Regions from separate parts of the Homo sapiens genome. Here region 2 is linked to region 1. Evidence: promoter capture Hi-C in human tissues and cell types (Jung and others, 2019). All regions are on one chromosome and are shown on one strand. Each heading gives the region's core, a stretch centred on a gene start or on the middle of the fragment in contact. The rest is flanking DNA. Distances are from core to core; before and after follow the strand shown.

Region 1 (5,714 bases), core at 1,793-4,292:
AATACCTGTTCCCCTTACAGTGAGATCTTTGTTTTGCCTTCACGAAACACACTGGTAAATGACAACAAGTCTGAAATCTGCAAGGATTTTGAACTTGTCAATCTGGCTCAATAATTTCTTCCACATCCTGACACCTGAATCAAGACATAAGTTCTCATCTAGGTAACAAACTATTTTCTTTCACAATGAGGATAAACCATCTCTGAATCTCAGATTTGCTCTTTTTTTTTCATCCTGGCCTTTTGCCACCACAGAAAAATGTCTGATAGGCTGAGTTTTCACATTGCAGCTGGTTACTGTGATTATGTAGACACAGCCTCAGTAAATTCAATGGTGTGTTGCTGGCTGTTCAATAGCTGGTGAAATTAATGCCCAGGGAAGTGGGAAATGGGCCACCACAATCAAAATGTGGATTTGGAACTTGCTCTTTATTTTATCCCACCCTTACCCTCCCCTACACCCCTGTCTTTGTGCTAATGCCAGCTACGTGCCAGGTTACTGGTATTCTCTTCCTCCTCCCTCTCCCCTTATAAGTAAACCAGCTCAAGAGAAGCCCCATTATCTTAGACTTAATGATACATTGGGAATGGTGGGAACTGAGTTCATGATACCTCACTCTCACCCCTACCCTGGAAGATGCATGAGAGAAAGGATAGCAGGTGCCTTCGGGGGCCACTTTATCCAGCAAGAGAAGCTGACCACCTGGAGCTACGGGATCTCAAAGATCATCTAAGCCAGGTCCTATCTGCAGACAGACTAGTCTGAGCCACCCAGGACCAATGACAGCCTCTCCTTTTAATAAAGACCCCTGACAGAGGGCTGCCAAGTTCTTCCAGTCTCACACCCCACTGTGTAGGTCATGAGTGGCTGCAGGAGCAGAAGGAGCACTGTCCTGTAGGCCAGGGAAACAGAGTTTCCTAACCAGCTCTGCTCCTGACCATCTTGCCAAGTCTCTTTCCCTAGTGCACCACCTCCAACACAGGAAGATAAGCAAACCAAGGTTCTGAGAGCTTCTGAAGATCTAAATCACTATAAACTTGTGAATCTCTTATTATCAAATCTTCAAATACAGCTTAGGGCAATTTAATTATAATAGAAAATAATCCATTTTCAGGACTGTCTCTACCACAGATTTCTTAACCCGAGGGAAACCCCCTGAAATTGTGTATTTTGCACATGTGTGGAGTCTGTGCACTTTGCTGGGAGTAAATTAAAACCTTCGATACGTGTATGATAACCACCTGCCTCCCTTCTCAAAAAATAAAAATAAAAAGAGGTTAAGAGCTTACCTCTAGGTTGAGAAGCTTAGATGTAAGTCATCCTGAGTGACTTCTGTTTTCCCCACCCGTGAATATCAAGTTATAACAAGTATCAAGAGCAGAAGGTGAGAAACCCAAGATGCAGGCTTGTGAACTGGAGTAAAAGAAGGTATCAGGCTTTACTTTTCAATCTCCAGCTGCCACTGCCCATTGCTCTGCCATATATTTGCTAGCCTATGACCTCAGGAATCAACTGACTCTCTCTGAACCACTGTTTCTCATCTCTCAATGAACAATGGTTATGCTTCTCTCAAAGAATTGTAAAGTCTCAAAGAAACTGAGTAAATGCATGGCTATCAGTAAGCGCTCAATTCATGGGAGTCCCTGCCCAGCACCAGTGGCTCAGGCCCCAAAATTAACTACTCAAAAGGCAGCTCCATCTATAACAGTGGTTCCATCCCCTACCTTGCCCCGGGGGAAAAGTATGACACAGTAGCTGAGTACCCAACTTTGGGAGAGACCCCACAGTTGAGTTCAGTTCCCAGCAGCTCTCCTCCATGCCTTTGTGAACTTGGGCGAACAGCTAAACTTCCCCATAATTTGGTGTCTCATCCATGAAATAGAAATGGTGAAGAGTGTATTCTTTCTCTCATGAGAGTCATGAGAAAATGCAAAAAGAACTCAGCACACTGTCTAGGACAAAATAAATGTTGGATAAATGTGAACTAACATAAAGTTCTTTGGCTTTTTCTTTCTTTCTTTCTTGGCCCATACTTTCTCTTCTAAGTACCATTCACCCACCTTTGGGAGTGCGTCCCTGTGACTGAATGTCCAACATGGATATCAGACAGAAAGGAAAAAACTCAACAAATAACCAAGATCCTCTACGTCCCTTCCCCAGGTCTCTGACCTCCCTCACCCCCACTCCCAGATAGCCAGCTAGCTTCCTCCCTCAATTCCCTTCATGTTTCCTCAAATATCACTTCAGTGACATCCCAAGCACCCACTTAACATTTCAAATCCACCCCACAAACACCCCACTGCATTTCCCCCTCCTTACTTTATTTTCAGCCTAACACCTGTCATCACATTACACACCTCATCATTTGCTTATTTAGTATACTGTCTGTCTTCTGTCGGGAGAAGCTACGCTCCTATAGGGCAGGAGTCCGTCTATTTTGTTCAGTTGCTATGTTCACAGCGCCCAGAGCCAGGGCAGAGAGTGGAGACTCCGTAAGAATCGGCTGAATAAATGAGTGAATGCCTGAGCGAATGAAAGGATGAAGAGAAGCCAGATTTTACTGGGGCCAAAGAGTTTGCACGGGGCGAGGGGAGCCAGATGAAGGATGAGGGCTGGCCTCAGATCCGACTCAAGTCCCTCCCACCTGCCCAATCCTAGAATTCTCTTTCCCTCTTTTAGGTGCTGGACAAGTTGCATATCCCGTTAAATCCGGGGCCCACTCCGGGAGCCCCCTATTAAAGGTAAGCAGCCCCCAACCCACCTTTGACACGGAAGAGTGACTAGCGGGGAAAATAACCCCAGCGGGCCGCCTAGGGGTGGGTGACCCGCGATCTCCACGCCCAGGTCCCGCCCTCGCGGCCCCTGCCCCCGCCCCGCCCCCCGCAGAGGGCGCGCCCTGGGAGCGGCGGGGGACGCGGCTGGCTTCCCGGCTTGCGGGGTGGCGGCGTCGGGGCTGCGGGCGCCTTGGCTGGACCCGCATTGCCCCCTAGTGCCGCGCGGAGTCAGGGCGCCGGGCTCCCCCGCCTGATGTCACCGCCGTGCAGTCAGCCCAGAAGCGGCTCATTGAAAGCAGACCCTCTTCGGCGCTCGCTGGGCGGAGGACGCGCCGCGGTCCGCAGACCCGAGCGAGCTGGGCACCGCCGGGCGCCCCCGGCCCTGCCGCCCCCTCCTCCCCGCCGCTCCCCCGCGAGCCCGGCCAGGCGCGCCTGACGTGGACCATTAAACTTGGAGCTGCCGCCTCGTCCCCTCTCCTCCTCCTCCTCCCTCTGACAGGCGAGCGAGCGACTCGGTGCAGGCAGGAGACGTGCTGCCGGGCTGGGCTGCCCGGGGGAGATGACTCCTCGCCAGGAGGGCGCCTCTGGGAAGAAGACCACGGGGGAAGCAAAGTTTCAGGGCAGCTGAGGAGCCTTCGCCGCAGCCCTTCCGAGCCCAATCATCCCCCTGGCTATGGAGGGCGGACTCTAAGATGAATCCCGACCTGGACACCGGCCACAACACATCAGCACCTGCCCACTGGGGAGAGTTGAAAAATGCCAACTTCACTGGCCCCAACCAGACCTCGAGCAACTCCACACTGCCCCAGCTGGACATCACCAGGGCCATCTCTGTGGGCCTGGTGCTGGGCGCCTTCATCCTCTTTGCCATCGTGGGCAACATCCTAGTCATCTTGTCTGTGGCCTGCAACCGGCACCTGCGGACGCCCACCAACTACTTCATTGTCAACCTGGCCATGGCCGACCTGCTGTTGAGCTTCACCGTCCTGCCCTTCTCAGCGGCCCTAGAGGTGCTCGGCTACTGGGTGCTGGGGCGGATCTTCTGTGACATCTGGGCAGCCGTGGATGTCCTGTGCTGCACAGCGTCCATTCTGAGCCTGTGCGCCATCTCCATCGATCGCTACATCGGGGTGCGCTACTCTCTGCAGTATCCCACGCTGGTCACCCGGAGGAAGGCCATCTTGGCGCTGCTCAGTGTCTGGGTCTTGTCCACCGTCATCTCCATCGGGCCTCTCCTTGGGTGGAAGGAGCCGGCACCCAACGATGACAAGGAGTGCGGGGTCACCGAAGAACCCTTCTATGCCCTCTTCTCCTCTCTGGGCTCCTTCTACATCCCTCTGGCGGTCATTCTAGTCATGTACTGCCGTGTCTATATAGTGGCCAAGAGAACCACCAAGAACCTAGAGGCAGGAGTCATGAAGGAGATGTCCAACTCCAAGGAGCTGACCCTGAGGATCCATTCCAAGAACTTTCACGAGGACACCCTTAGCAGTACCAAGGCCAAGGGCCACAACCCCAGGAGTTCCATAGCTGTCAAACTTTTTAAGTTCTCCAGGGAAAAGAAAGCAGCTAAGACGTTGGGCATTGTGGTCGGTATGTTCATCTTGTGCTGGCTACCCTTCTTCATCGCTCTACCGCTTGGTAAGTTGGGGACTAGCAGCAGGGGGACTGGGCATTTTTGGACCTTGGGTTTACTGATGAGCTTACTCTAAAGTTTTTTGTGGGTTTTGTTTCTTATGCAGTCTGTGCGTGTTCGGAGATTGAATAATATTGTTTGTTCTGCAAAGGGTTTGCAGATTGGGGAGCTGGCTAAAAACCAACTCAGGTGTTAGTAGAACACGCTAAGGCACTAGCTTCTGGAAATAGAACCAGGGAAGGAAAATCTGGTATGAGGAATGACTCACTCAACAGCCTCGGTTTAATAATTAAAAAGGATATTCACTGGGCTTGAATATCACACCGGCGTTATTTCAGTAGTAATGATGTGTCGGCTAAGGCAGCGTCACTAATGCAGCATACAAAATAGTTTGTAGTTACTGCAGACGCGGCATTTGGGAAGCAGGGAGGCAGCTCGTACACAGAAAGGCAGCATTCATTCAGCATTTCCAGGGCTAGAGCAGAAGCCACGCTTCTCAAGAGCTTTGCAGAGGCTGCATTCTCTCCCTCCCCTCTTCACTGACAGCTATCACCCAGATATACTACGTTCATTATCCGTTAATAAGAGCATTTTACAGCCACACAGCCCCAACCAGCCTTTAAGTTATTGAAAGCTTGAGATGTGAAAGAGAAGATGACTAGAGGGTCACACATTTTTAGTTTTTACCCAAAAATGTTTCTAACTCTAGTGATTTATGGAATGCCCAGAATCAAATTATAGTTGTCCCTCATCTCAGCTGACAGAGACCAAATCCTGGTAAGATGGAATTCAGTGCGTCCTCCCCCTCTTATGAAAACATGTTCGTCTTCTTTTTGTTTGGTGGTCCTACTAACTGAATTGTTCAAAAGGCTACCTGATGTTTTCTAAGGAAGAAGCCAAGGTCTGGTTAGCAGGTAAACCTAAAGGGGGGCATCTGTCACATGCTGTCCACATGGCCTGGGGATCCCTTGTCCTTCCTCTGAGGCACTGATCTGCTTTGATTCCTTCTCCTATCCCTGGGGGACACTACAGAAAATGAATGGAGGGAGTTTATCATGACACAGTCATGTGCCATGATATCAGGAGAGGTAACAGCTGCTATACTGCGGACCACATATGCCTGCAATCACACCGGAGTCTCAGGTCAGACCCAAATATAACCAAATCCCTCAAACAGCTATAAATTCTGAAGGCACACTGCTTTCAAGAGAAAAATGCAAACAGAAAGGAAGCAAACAGATATCGAGTTTCCATTTAAAAAGAAAGAAAAAGATTTTCAAAAGCCGTCTAACCTTTTCTCCATG
Region 2 (5,421 bases), core at 787-3,286, 720 kb before region 1:
AAAAGATTAAAATTAAACACAAATTGTGGGCAATATCAACACTTGAGAAGTCTAAAGAAAACAAATCAAAAGAATCAGAAGCAATGGTCAGGGAGTTAGGAGAAAAATCAGGAAAAAAAAAAAAAACACTTTCAAGAAAGAGGAAGTGGTAAACAGCTCCATAAACATAGAAAAGTCTGTAGAATTAGGACATAAATGAGGGTTGAATTTTACATTTTAAGTCACTAATGATTTTAGTGATGGTAGTTTCAAAAGGATTTTCGCATCCATTTCTTCCTTTCTAATTTCTACCTTGCCAGTTCTGGCTCTCATTACCTCTTGCCTAAAATCCTAACTGGTCTTCTTACCTCCAGTTTCTCCCCTCCCCAATCCATCATCCTATAAAACGCTGCCTAATCAATCTTAAAATGCAGCTCACCTGCTCTAAAATCCCCACTGACCCACCACGACCTATAGAATTAAGCACCATATCTACTGTATGTATTCAGGATTCTTCACAAAAGCCCTATTCTACCTTACCAATATTACTTCTACTCCTCCTTTCATATCCTACACTCCAAAAAACAGTGGGCAGTCACTTCTCTTTCAGCAGAACCCACCCTGGAAAGCTTCTAAGTTTGAAGACACAATTACATTCCATTAAATACAAACTTTATTGCTCCCTCCCTTAATTTTTAAGCTCCTTAATTACAATTAGAAGACATAAAGGGGGAAAAACTCCCACTTACGATAGCAATAAAAAAGATAAAATACCTAGAAACAATAAATGTCAGGAGGCTGCGGCAGGAGGATCACTTGAGCCCAGGAGTTCCAGGCCAGCCTGGGCAACACAGCAAGAACCCATCCTCCCCACCTGCCCCCAAAATTAGTAATAATGCAATCTAAATTTTAAAAAAAATCAAATGGGTTGCTTTGTTTTTGGAATGAGACCTAGACAATTTTGAGACAATTCTTAAATTCACATAGAAAACTAACCATAAAAAAAAAGCTCAGAGGAGGAAATAAAGAAAACTGAAGGGACTAACCCTGTTAGACAGTAAAATATAATCTAAACCCTCAACAAATAAGACAGCGTGTTAATAGTTCACAAACAGGCAGACAGACTAAAGGAAGAGAAGTTCAAAAATGAAACAAAATATATGTGAGAATTCAGTATATAATGAGAAAAAAATGGACTAAATAGGTGAGGATGACTGTGTGGTTATCTAGAAAAAATAAAATTATACCTATAACACACTATTCATACAGATAAATGAAGCAAAGATTTAAATGTAAAAATAAACCCACAAAAATAGTAAGATAAAATACAACAGAATTCTTTATAAACTCAAGAATAAAGAAGGCTTTTCTAATTGACTCAAAATACTAAAGCTTAAAAACCTTCTAAATGTCAAAAAATCATAAGCAAAATCACTGAGTTGAAACTGGAAAAACTATTTTCAACTTATCACAAAGGATTAATTTCCCTAATGTATACCAAATTCCCACAAATTGGTAAAAAAAGAATCTCACAGAAAAGTGGGCAGGGTATATAAACTGACAACTCTCAGAAGAGAAAATACAGGTTTTTCTTAAGTATGTGTATGTTCAATTCATTCATAATAGAAATGCAAACTAAAACTACATTGAGTTAAAAAAATCAATTTTTCCACCTATTGGAGTAGCCAAAATATTTGTGGTAACAGGCTGTTTTGATAATATAGGATTGTAGGAACTCTCAACCACGGTTTTTGGAGGTACAAAATAGTAAAACCCTATGGAAAGTACTATCTGTCAACACTACAAATATATATAAGTTAACCCTTGAACAACATAGGATGGAACTGTGAGGGTCCACTTACATGTAGATTTTTTACAACCAAACTCTTATGGAATACAGTATTTGCAACATGCAAAACCCACGTATACAGAGGGCCAACCTTCTGCATACATAGTTCCACAGGGTCACTTGAGGGACCTGAGTATGCGCAGATTTTGGTATACGTGGGCATCCTGGAACCAACTTCCAGCATACACCGACGGACCACTGTACTCTTTAACCCAGCAACTTCGCTTCTAGTAACTTAGCCCCAGGTTATATTTGTACTTGTTGAAATTATAGCTATACAAAGTTATTTAGCACAACGCTGTACAAAATAGCAGAAGGTAGGCTATCTAAAATGTCCACCAATGGAGTAATTAGTTCAATAAATTATGGTATATCCATACGAAGATACTATGCCAACGTAAAATGCAATCGGGAAGAGGAGAAATGAGGCCTCGATATCTACTCAAGAGAGTCTTTAAGATCCGGCAGACTGTCATCATAAGAAAAAGAGCACAAAACTCTATTTCATAAATATCTAAAAGCAGTAGTTATGGCTCCACATACATCACAAACAAAAACCATGATTCAAAACCATGTATACCATGCTAACATCTGTATAAAAAGGGGGGAAATATACATTTTTTATATTTACTTATATATACATAAAAATATCTCTAGAATTATACAGAAAGAAATAAAAGCTACATGGTGTTCAGAGTGAGAACTCAGCGAATGAGTAACAGAGATGGGAGGGAGATACTTTTCATTAAATACTTTTTATGCTTTTTTATTTCTGAATGTAGATACATTATTTTATTAAGGTGAAATTTGATTTGTATTTGAGGGTGAAATTCTGTAAACAGGAGCATTACATAAACACTATGTAATATTTTGACAAAGGTAACTCCAACCAAAACATTGTTCAAGCTGAAAATATCTGTTCATGCAACCACTGAGCTTACTCTACTTTGGCATGGAGTAAGCATATTTAAGATGGCTCAACTAACTTTATAAAATTATAAACCAGATTATGAACTTCAATTGTACTCGAAAACATTCAATTTCTAAAATTAATATTCCTGGTTATCAGGCAGCTGTTTTTATAATAAATATTTCAACCTATTCAGAAACAATATATAAGCACATTTTTAAAACCACAGTATGTATGACTTTGCTGATTAATCTAAAAATCTAAGCCAAGTACCCAGTTGTTCTACAACTGACGGGAATTACTTTCCATAAATTGGCTAACATACAAAGCCTTTCATAAAAGGCTGAGAATTACAGTGTTTTGCAACATAAAGGAACTTTCCCATTTCAGAGACATTCCCAAGGTAGTGCTATCCACAAAAGATGAGTTTACTGAACCGAAACGTTTTGTTTCTAGTGCACCATCTCTTCTACTACATCATACTTCTTTCCACAACAGCTTACCTCTTAGGGATGTAAGGGGAACGTTCTCAGGGCTAAGTTTTAGAACCCAGAAAGTGATAAAAATAAATCTCAGAGAGACAGGACAACTCTTCATGACTTTATAAAAGATATATTTTGTGACAGGCAACTCTAATAATAAAATATTAGCAAAACCACTATAGTACCATTCAAACCATGTCTGGAACTCTGCAATCACAACATTAATAAAATATATTGCTATATACATTACAAATAAACCAAAACCTAAAAAGTAAGGATCATGATTTTTATTCTAGGTAAATTTTATCTGTTTCATGCTTGTATTTCTTGACTTTAATTTCTTCAATCTCTTATCATTATTTTTACCACTAACCCCATAGCATATCAATGATAGTTCCATTTTTCTTGAAAGGGGATTCAAGCAAAAAAAAAAAAAATTATAGTTCCAGGAGGATTTTTTTTATGGAACAAAGTATTATAGTATCATTTCCCAAATTTCATTTAACTGAACACTTTATCTTCAGCTGATGTTAATGTTTTCGTTTATCTCAGGGAACAATAAAGAATGTTGCATTTTAAAAAGCTTACTTTCTGAATTACTACCAAACCCCAAAACAAGGACAAATTAGAAGGGGCCAAATGTCTCTAAAAGTATTTCTCATTGTTTATATTTCATCATATTAAAATCTAGAATGTTTTCTTCTGCCTTCCAGTTTTATCCAGTAAAATAAATCCAATACTGCTTACTTTCTTGTAGCCTTAATAATTCATGTGCAATGATAAGACAAAACTATCAAGATTCATAAACACTCATCAATAACTATATCACTATCATCTTAATGAAAATGAACTTCATTTTACCCAAATTCAAAAAGATACTAAGACATAAATCAGAATGCTCACTAGAAGATTAGAAAATGTGATGTAGACACTCACCTACATAATGCATATTAAGAGCCAAATACTTATACTGGAAAAGAGGGTTATTACTAAGGCTACTTCTTTGGATCTGCTGGAAAAAGGAGCTGACATCCCATCTGTACAGGACATCCAACAGCATGATGCTTGGCACCCTCAGGGCCACATTTAACACTGCCTCCAGTTTCTCCTTTGCAGCCATGTTGTTTTTTTTTTTCTTTTTTTTTTTCTTGGAGAAGACCTAAAATTCAGAAGACACAATATATAAAAATAAAAAGTCAACACAAATCGCTTTTAGATACCCTTTCACGAATCTAATAGGTTGTCACACACTGTACAAAACTATGTGAGAACGTATACTACTTCTCAGCCACAACTACTATTTTTAGATATTCATAAAATAACCTCTGTATTGTGTTTTCACATTGACCCATTCAGTTCTGTCCAATCTTATAATTCTGATTAAATGTTCTGGCCTCAAAACTAATTTTTTAAAAGGCCACTAACTCCAAATCTAGGAACAAAACACTCTGTAAGACTACTGTAACTTGTATAAAATTAACTTGAAAAATTCACTCACTCCAATAAAACTATGATTTATGTAGCTCATAAGAGGGTGAATTTTGAATATTTACTCTATGAAAAAGCCTAAGCAATTCAATAAAAACTTGATAACTGCACGTTTAGTTTGCAGCATCTTGTACTCTATGCTTTTCCTTATTCACTTACAATCAAAATTGAAGTGCTAAATTTACAATCCAGAGAACTCATGATGTAGATACAGGTAGAGGGAACATTATTTACAATATCATTTCCTTGAATCTTTAAAGTTAAATATGGTCTAAAATTCCCATAATCTGCCTTCAAGTGTTCATCAAATTCTTCCCTTGATACACAGATAAGCAGGCACATGGAAGACGCCAGGCATTGAGTCTGCAGCCCCTGTCTCTGCACAGACCATGATAAGTAGTGGGGGGGGGCAGGGGGAGGAGGAAATGAAAGGCAGTTATCAGGACAATTTACTATTTAAAGGGACAATTCAATGCCATACTGCTTTATATGGTAGAACTTCAAATTAATCCAAAAAAATATAAAATAGGGCAAACAAGGCCGGGCGCAGTGGCACACGCCTGTAATCCCAGCACTTTGGGAAGCCGAAGCAGGCAGATCATGAGGTCACGAGTTCGAGACCAGCCTAGCCAATATGGTGAAACTCCGTCTGTACTAAAAATACAAAAATTAGCCGGGCATGGTGGTGCACACCTGTAGTCCCAGCTACTCAG

What was found. Contacts are between HindIII fragments. The study calls those that stand out against the background at their distance.
Region 2: a fragment that was not itself captured here is called in contact with the fragment with the promoter of ADRA1B in region 1 in 1 of the 25 tissues and cell types used here (mesendoderm cells).

Annotation. Positions count from the first base shown.
Region 1 is chr5:159,913,440-159,919,153 of GRCh38, forward strand. ADRA1B (adrenoceptor alpha 1B) reads left to right here and starts at 3,043. Exons shown (of 2, transcript NM_000679.4): 1 at 3,043-4,415. The coding sequence starts at 3,467. RefSeq lists a silencer at 2,877-2,936 and enhancers at 3,000-3,616, 3,617-4,233. The HindIII fragment of the contact is 5,190 bases long and covers 253-5,442 here.
Region 2 is chr5:159,199,278-159,204,698 of GRCh38, forward strand. It overlaps RNF145 (ring finger protein 145), which reads right to left. Exons shown (of 11, transcript NM_001199383.2): 2 at 4,157-4,379. The coding sequence starts at 4,340. Among named protein-coding and RNA genes, the nearest start is that of RNF145, 7.6 kb to the right of the region's middle. The HindIII fragment of the contact is 5,582 bases long and covers 1-4,827 here.